Regions from separate parts of the Homo sapiens genome. Here region 1 is linked to region 2. Evidence: promoter capture Hi-C in human tissues and cell types (Jung and others, 2019). All regions are on one chromosome and are shown on one strand. The core of a region is centred on a gene start or on the middle of the fragment in contact, and the rest is flanking DNA. Distances in the headings are between cores, read along the strand shown.

Region 1 (4,042 bases), core at 377-2,876, 760 kb after region 2:
AGAGGGAGTCTCGCTCTGTGGCCCAGGCTGGAGTGCAGTCGCCTGATCTCGGCTCATTGCAACCTCTGCCTCCTGGGTTCAAGCGACTCTCCCACCCCAGCCTGCTCCCTCCCCGCCCCCGAGTAGCGGGACCACAGGGTGTGCGCCACCACACTCAGCTAATTTTTGCATTTTTGTAGAAATGGGGATTCGCCGTGTTGCCCAGGCTAGTCTCAGACTCCGAGCTCTAGTGATCCGCCTGCCTTGGGCGCCCAAAGTGCTAGGACTACAGGTGTGAGCCGGGCAGGAGAGTAACTTCACTTTGGTTTCCTCCTGCCTTAAATGGGCATACCACCTGGCATTAGGATTAATGTGCGTAAAGTACTTAGAACTCAGCCCAGGTGAGTTCTCCTTAACTCAGCCTAGAAGAGATCATCCGCCCGAGGGTGAGGGGGCTAGAGCCGCCCTGTGAATTGGGAAAGGAGGCCCCTTTTCAGCCTTGCCAGGTATCCTGGACCCCACCCAACCCACTCACTCACCCACCCAACCCCAGCAAGTGGGGAGAGGGAGAGCAGTCCAGGTCTCCTTATCTGTCTGGGCTGTTTAGGAGTGAGACCACACAAGGCAGGCAGTTCTCAGAGAATTCCCCTCCAAGGCCTGCTGGCTCTTTCTTGGCACTTTGCTCTGCAGATTTCTTTCCGTAAGTGCTTATTTCTCACAGTCTTTCTCCTTTTTGTCCAGTTTCTTTTTCTTTTTAATTTTTTTAAATAGTATTTTTTGTAGACATGGGATCTCACTGTTGCCCAGGCTGATCTTGAACTCCTGATCTCAGGTAATCCACCTGCCTCATCCTCTGAAAGTACTGGGATTGGCCGGGCTTGGTGGCTCACACCTGTAATTCCAGCTCTTTGGGAGGCGGAGGTGGGAGGATCGCTTGAGCCCCGGAGCTGGAGATTAGCCTGGGCAACATAGGGAAACCCCGTCTTTCAAAAAAAAAAAAAAAGAAGAAGAAAAAGGAAAGAAAAACACAAAAAGTGCTGGGATCACAGGTGTGAGCCACTGCGCTCAGCCCCTTTCTGTTTCTTTTTGTGATCCTCCCAACCCTCTTCTCCCTCTGAATCTGTCTCTGGGACTGTCTCTGTCTCCCCGTCTTCCCTCCCTTCCTCACCCTGTCTATCTCTCTCTGTATGTCTCTTGGTGTGTGTGTCTCTCTCGATGTTTTTCTCTCTGCCTGTCTGCCTGTCTGTACCCCTCTGCGTCTCTCCCCGCCCCCATCCGTCTGTGTCGCACGCGCACCCCCATCGGGCTTCTGCTCTTGTCAATTGCCCCTGGGGCCCTGCCCCCACCTCCGCCCCAGTTTCCTTCTACAAGCCTCAGTCTCCAGCTTTGAAAACTGGGCAGGCGTCCCCCCATCCGCACCCCCACCCCTTCCCCACGCATTCCCCGCTCGGTCACGGCTGTCCACCGGCCAAGCTCAGGCGCGTCCTGGCCCAGGGCCGGGCGGAAGGGAACCAGTCCAGGGCCAGCCAGGCTGCGCCGGGGGCGCGCGTCCGGGAAGCGCCCCTCCTGCCCCGCCCCCGGCCCCGGCCCCGGCCCCGCCCCGTGCTTGCAGTTTCCTATAAGTAGCCGGCTCTCGGTGCCAGCCTCAGCCTGACTTCAGCGCTCCCACTCTCGGCCGACACCCCTCATGGCCAACCGTTACACCATGGATCTGACTGCCATCTACGAGGTGAGTCCCCGCCGCACGGCATCCCCGGTACCTGCATGCCTGAGTCCGAGTCCCCACCTCTCTAGCGCCGCAAACTCCAGCCCGGGACGCTTGCCTCCCTTCTCCAACTGGGGCTCCCTAGCGCCGCGCCCTCCAGCCTGGGGCCCCTGCCTCCCGCTCAGACCAGCTTGGTGATTTGGAGGTGAAAATGGAACCCGCGACACCCGGCTCTTCGCTCAAACATGGGTGGGGCGGCCCATGCAAGTGGAAAGTCGGAGAACTTTTCTCAGACCGAGGCTGCCTGGAGGCGGAAGTGGCCCCCATACCTGGCTCACCCCTAGTCGTTGCTGAGGGCGTGGTTTTGCGCGGAGGCGTCTCTGGGGCTGAAGTCTCAGGGTGGGGGGATCCGACTTCTGTCTCTCCAGTCCCTGACCGTAGAGACAGAGAACCCTAAAACCGAAGCAATCCGGACTTCCAGGTCAACTTTGCCCGGTTTCTCCAGTTGTGAAACTGGAGATCCCGACGCGTGGGTCATATCCGGGGAGGACAAGAGACCCAAAATTGGGAAACAGTGGTGCGCCCTGACTTCGGGGTCCCCCTCTTGGTCCAGCCGGGGAAGCCGGGATTCCTGGGTCCCTCGGGATAAGGCCTCGGTGGTGGGTAAACTCAGAACCTCCAACTCTGGGTTCCTGGCATCCGGAACCCAGGGGTTTCTGCGGGCGGGTGGGGCTCAGGCGGGGAGCCCACAAACCGGCCTGGCAAGCTCTAGTTCCCTGCAGCTGGGGTGGGGCGTCGCCCTGCATTTTCAGGTGCCTTAACCGACCCATTTCCGCAGAGCCTCCTGTCGCTGAGCCCTGACGTGCCCGTGCCATCCGACCATGGAGGGACTGAGTCCAGCCCAGGCTGGGGCTCCTCGGGACCCTGGAGCCTGAGCCCCTCCGACTCCAGCCCGTCTGGGGTCACCTCCCGCCTGCCTGGCCGCTCCACCAGCCTAGTGGAGGGCCGCAGCTGTGGCTGGGTGCCCCCACCCCCTGGCTTCGCACCGCTGGCTCCCCGCCTGGGCCCTGAGCTGTCACCCTCACCCACTTCGCCCACTGCAACCTCCACCACCCCCTCGCGCTACAAGACTGAGCTATGTCGGACCTTCTCAGAGAGTGGGCGCTGCCGCTACGGGGCCAAGTGCCAGTTTGCCCATGGCCTGGGCGAGCTGCGCCAGGCCAATCGCCACCCCAAATACAAGACGGAACTCTGTCACAAGTTCTACCTCCAGGGCCGCTGCCCCTACGGCTCTCGCTGCCACTTCATCCACAACCCTAGCGAAGACCTGGCGGCCCCGGGCCACCCTCCTGTGCTTCGCCAGAGCATCAGCTTCTCCGGCCTGCCCTCTGGCCGCCGGACCTCACCACCACCACCAGGCCTGGCCGGCCCTTCCCTGTCCTCCAGCTCCTTCTCGCCCTCCAGCTCCCCACCACCACCTGGGGACCTTCCACTGTCACCCTCTGCCTTCTCTGCTGCCCCTGGCACCCCCCTGGCTCGAAGAGACCCCACCCCAGTCTGTTGCCCCTCCTGCCGAAGGGCCACTCCTATCAGCGTCTGGGGGCCCTTGGGTGGCCTGGTTCGGACCCCCTCTGTACAGTCCCTGGGATCCGACCCTGATGAATATGCCAGCAGCGGCAGCAGCCTGGGGGGCTCTGACTCTCCCGTCTTCGAGGCGGGAGTTTTTGCACCACCCCAGCCCGTGGCAGCCCCCCGGCGACTCCCCATCTTCAATCGCATCTCTGTTTCTGAGTGACAAAGTGACTGCCCGGTCAGATCAGCTGGATCTCAGCGGGGAGCCACGTCTCTTGCACTGTGGTCTCTGCATGGACCCCAGGGCTGTGGGGACTTGGGGGACAGTAATCAAGTAATCCCCTTTTCCAGAATGCATTAACCCACTCCCCTGACCTCACGCTGGGGCAGGTCCCCAAGTGTGCAAGCTCAGTATTCATGATGGTGGGGGATGGAGTGTCTTCCGAGGTTCTTGGGGGAAAAAAAATTGTAGCATATTTAAGGGAGGCAATGAACCCTCTCCCCCACCTCTTCCCTGCCCAAATCTGTCTCCTAGAATCTTATGTGCTGTGAATAATAGGCCTTCACTGCCCCTCCAGTTTTTATAGACCTGAGGTTCCAGTGTCTCCTGGTAACTGGAACCTCTCCTGAGGGGGAATCCTGGTGCTCAAATTACCCTCCAAAAGCAAGTAGCCAAAGCCGTTGCCAAACCCCACCCATAAATCAATGGGCCCTTTATTTATGACGACTTTATTTATTCTAATATGATTTTATAGTATTTATATATATTGGGTCGTCTGCTTCCCT
Region 2 (4,714 bases), core at 753-3,252:
ATTTATTTATTTATTTTTATTTTTATTTTAGACGGAGTCTTGCTCTGTCGCCCAGGCTGGAGTACAGTGGCGCGATCTCGGCTTACTGCAGCCTCTGCCTCCCGAGTTCCAGTGATTCCCCTACCTCAGCCCCCTGGGTAGCTGGGATTACAGGTGCATGCCACCAAGCCCGGCTAATTTTTGTATTTTTAGTAGAGACGGGGTTTCACCATGTTGGCCAGGCTGGCCTCTAACTCCTGACCTCGTGATCTGCCTGCCTCGGCCTCCCAAAGTGCTGGGATTACAGGCATGAGCCACTGCGCCCGGCCATTTATTTTTAATGTAAACATTTTTTTGTAGAGATGAGATCTTGTTATGTTACCCAGTCTGGCCTCAAACTCTTGGGCTCAAGCACTCTTCCAGCCTTGACTCCCCAGAGTGCTGGGATTGCAAGAGTAAGCCACCAGTGCCTGGCTGAATATTTAAATTTAAGATGCTTCCTGATGCAGTGGCTCGCACCTTTGTTTAAATGTCTGCCTTCTCCATGAAGCCTACCTGAGTAGTTTATTTGCATTCCAGCCCATGCTTGATTTTTCTCCAAATACTCAACACCTTGGAATATACAATACTACCTATTTTTTACTTTTATGTATATTTTTGAGACAGGATTTCGCTTCTGGAGTGCATTGGTGTGATCACAGCTCACTGCAGACTGGAACTCCTGGGCTCAAGTGATGTCCCTTCCTCAGCCTCCTGAGTAGCTGGGACTACAGGTGCACACAGCCATGCCCAGTGAATTTTTACATTTCTTGTAGAGACAGGTTCTTGTTATGTTGCCTAGGCTGGCCTTGAACTCTTGGGCTCAAGCCATCCTCCCGCCTCAGCTTCCCAAAGTGCTGGGATTACAGGTGTGAGCCCCTGTGCCTGTCTACATATTTTTTAAAATTTTGAGTGTTGAGGCCAGGCGCAGTGGCTCATGCCTGTAAGCCCAGCACTTTGGGAGGCCGAGGTGGGCGGATCACCTGAGGTCGGGAGTTTGAGACCAGCCTGACCAACATGGAGAAACCCCGTCTCTACTAAAAATACAAAATTAGCCAGGAGTGGTGGCACATGCCTGTGATCCCAGCTACTCGGGAGGCTGAGGCAGGAGAATAGCTTGAACCTGGGAGGCGGAGGTTGCAGTGAGCCCAGATCACGCCATTGCACTCCAGCCTGGGCAACAAGAGCGAAACTCCGTCTCAAAAAAAAAAATTTGTGTGTTGGTTGGGCGCGGTGGCTCACGCCTGTAATTCCAGCACTTTGGGAGGCTGAGGCGGGAGGATCGCTTGAGCTCAAGAGTTCAAGACCAGCCTGGCCAACATGGTGAAACCCCGTCTCTACTAAAAAAATACAAAAATTAGCCGGGTGTGGTGGAGCATGCCTGTGTTCCCAGCTACTCGGGAGGCTGAGGCAGGAGAATTGCTTGAATCCGGGAGGCGGAGGTTGCAGTGAGCCGAGATCGCGCCACTGCACTCCAGCCTGGGAGACAGAGCGAGACTCCGTCTCAAAAAATAATAAAAATAAAAGTAGATTTGTGTGTATGTGGCTTCCTTTACTAGAAGGTAGTTTCATGAAAGTTGGGATTTTTTTCTGTTTTTAGTGCCTGCGTAAAACATAGTCTGGCACAGAATAGGTGTTCAATAAATATTTGTTGAATTTGTGTCGCTGAATGGGAACCCGGTGCAGTGCATTCCAAGCCTGAGCTGGTTCAGGTCCGATGGCGGGGCCTGCCCTTATGAATCATTCATGATCTGGCCCCGCCCATACGCGAACGACGCGCGCGTTCACGCCGGAGAGGGGGCGCGGCTCGCCCCCGGGCTGAGTCGGGCGGCCAGGAAGCGGGACTCTGCGCAGGCGCCAAGCTCCGGAGCGCGGCCTTGGTGCCTTTTCTGGTTTGGCAGGCGCGCGCGCGCGGGAGGGCGGCAACCTCGGCGCTGTGCGCAGGCGCGGCGGGCAGTGCGCAGGCGCGGGCGGAGGGCGGGCTGAAGCAGCTGAAGCGGCGGTAGCGGCGGCGGCTCGGGCAGAGGGGCGGGAGCTGAGGCGGGAGCGGACAGGCTGGTGGGCGAGCGAGAGGCGGCGGAATGGTGGACTACCACGCGGCGAACCAGTCGTACCAGTACGGCCCCAGCAGCGCGGGCAATGGCGCTGGCGGCGGGGGCAGCATGGGCGACTACATGGCCCAGGAGGACGACTGGGACCGGGACCTGCTGCTGGACCCGGCCTGGGAGAAGCAGCAGCGCAAGGTGCGCGGCCCGCGGGCCGGACGGGCTGGAGGGGCTTTTCTGAGGGGGCCCGGGGAGGGGTGGGAGGTCCTGAAAGGTAACTGGAGCGTCTGTGATGGGAACGGGGGGGTCCCGAGAAGGAATTGGCGGGTCCGGGAAGGGAATTGGAGTCCTGAGGAGGAATCGCCGAGCTAGAGGAAGGAATTGGGAATCTGAAAAGAGAATTGGCGGCTGGGTGGGGAATATGGGAGTCAAATAAAAGGAATCGGGAAGGCTGATGAAGGATTTGGAGGGTCTGGGCGTGCCATTAGGGGAAACCGAGGAGATGACTGGGCAGGCTGAAATGGAACTGGGATCCGAGGCGGGCTTGAAGGGTCGGAGCATGGGTTGGGGGTGCTGGGAGGAGAATCAGGGGAGGCTGAGAAGGGAATTTCTGGGTCTGGGAAGTGTGAGGAGGAGCTTGAGTGTGGAGGGGTTGGTTATTTGGAGAGCAGAAAGATCTGAAGGAGATTGGAATTGGGGGAGCCTCAGGTTGGGGGAGTTATAAAGGGGATGAAGAATCAAGTGTGAGGATGGAGTGGAGATTGTGGGGTCTGAAGACGGGTGGGAAGACTAGGGAGGCTGGGAAGATGAAAACAGGGGCTAAGGGTAGAATTGAGCATGAAAAGACATGGGCTTAGGGTGTGAGGAGGGTAGAGGTGCCAGGACTGGGGGTCTGAGGAGGGTGGGGTGCGGAAGGAAGAAGTTAAGGGGCCCGTGAATCAGACGTTTTTGAAGGGGGTGAGATTTATTTGTGGTGCCCTGTTCCAAAGGGGAGAAGATTAAGAGATAGGAGGAATAATAAGAGGAATTGATGAGGGATGGAGAAGCCGAAGTAGAGGGGATACGGAGAGTGGGGATAATTTGGGGAGGGATTTCTAAAGAATTGATGGGAAGCTGAAAAGCTAAAGCGTTGGAGAGAATGAGGAAGTGTAGAGGGAGAAGGTGAGATCGGTGGGAGGGAGGGTGAGCTGGAATGGTGGATAATGGGAGAGAGGTTCGTTTAGGAAAATGAAAGTCTCATTAGAAAGGGAATGCGTAATGGATAGACTGAGAAAGGAATTTGAGGAGGGGGTGCTGGCTCCTGGAGGTGCAGTCCCGGGACTGGAGAGCGTGTGTGTGTCGTGCAGGCAGAATGAGTTTGGGGAGGAAGCGTTGAGAGTGTCCAGGAAGAATTGTGTCTTTTTTGGAGAGACCGGAGGTAGGTGAAGGGATCCTGAAGCAGAGACTGTGTTCAGGTGGCACTGTTTTTTTGGGGGGCGGGGGGGGCAACTTGGTAGGGCCCCACAGCAGTGAAAAGGTGATCAGAAGTGGAGTGGGATCCCCGAGCGAGGTGTCAGTGTCTGTGGGGGGGGGATAAATCCAGTGTGGTTGAGGGGGGAGCTCTGAGTGTGTGCAGGAAGAGCTAAAGAAAGGAGCGTGGTGAGTGGGTGTGTGTGGGGGGAAGGGGTTGTTCAGAAGTTTTGTGCGTGAAATGGGTGGGAGGTACTTGAAGTTGGAAGCATTTCGTGGGATCTGGAGATCTGGATTTTCTTTCCAGATTTGTTACTGATTCGCTCTGTGGCCTTGGACAAGACCCTTGAACTCTCCGGGCAGTTTTGTTATCTGCAAAATGCAAAGGGATCCGAGGGTTCCCTGCGGTGATTCTGTTAATAAAGAGGGATGTGTGTAGAGTTGGGACTTTGGACAGGGCTCTGAAGGTTTGGGAGAGTGAGTTTGGTGGAGATTTTTCAGGAACAGGCTACAGGGCTTTGAGTGGTGACCTGGCAGAGTGGGGAGTGACTGGAAGCCTCTCGAGGGCGCGAGTTGGTGGCCAGGAGCTTGGCACAGGCAGCCTAGCCCAGGCTGGAGGGGAAAGGGTGGGAAGGGTGGAAGGAGCAGCTGTTCCAAGGCAGCCTGAGGTGGGGCCGGGCATAACCTTGGGTCCATTACCAGCGTTGCTTGAATTTCCTCATCCGTAGTAACTGAGGGGCATGGCAGTGGCTTGGTGGGAGGGGTGTCCTTATCCGTGGCCCCACCTACTGCAGGATGGACAGGTTGCGATAGTTGGCATAAATTCACTTTTTGAGGGGAAGGTGAGATCTGTTCTGGAGTCTCAACAATAATTTATTGCCTGAGGCAGTGCCAGGTTGGAAAAGGTTGCCAAGAGACCTGGAAAGTTGGGAGGGAGCAGGGGCCACAGTGGTGGTTTTGAGAATGTCTAGGCTTTGTCTTCTGCAGCTGAAGGTGCTGGAGAAAATAAACCCCTCCCCCTTTTTTCTCAGGTGATAAGGGTGGGGGGACCTTCCTTTTCTCTCCCTTCCTGTCTTCTGCCACTCCTCAAGTGACTCCTTTTGCGAGCCGGGTTTCACTCCCTCCCGAGAGTTAGGGTGTGGGCTTTGTTCGTGGTTATAGTGTCCCTTGCCTACAGGGTGAGGCTGGGGCACCATTCAGGC

The links. Contacts are between HindIII fragments. The study calls those that stand out against the background at their distance.
Region 1: the fragment with the promoter of ZFP36 here is called in contact with the fragment with the promoter of ACTN4 in region 2 in 1 of the 25 tissues and cell types used here (dorsolateral prefrontal cortex).

Annotation. Positions count from the first base shown.
Region 1 is chr19:39,405,221-39,409,262 of GRCh38, forward strand. It overlaps ZFP36 (ZFP36 ring finger protein), which reads left to right and starts at 1,627. Exons shown (of 2, transcript NM_003407.5): 1 at 1,627-1,708; 2 at 2,523-4,042. The coding sequence starts at 1,685. The coding sequence ends at 3,479. RefSeq lists a silencer at 1,221-1,670 and enhancers at 1,791-1,990, 2,041-2,678, 2,679-3,317, 3,318-3,955. The HindIII fragment of the contact is 20,061 bases long and covers 1-4,042 here.
Region 2 is chr19:38,645,647-38,650,360 of GRCh38, forward strand. It overlaps ACTN4 (actinin alpha 4), which reads left to right and starts at 2,003. Exons shown (of 21, transcript NM_004924.6): 1 at 2,003-2,261. The coding sequence starts at 2,100. RefSeq lists silencers at 1,843-2,032, 2,263-2,342, 3,526-3,724, 3,683-3,977 and enhancers at 3,683-3,977, 4,606-4,685. The HindIII fragment of the contact is 19,413 bases long and covers 1-4,714 here.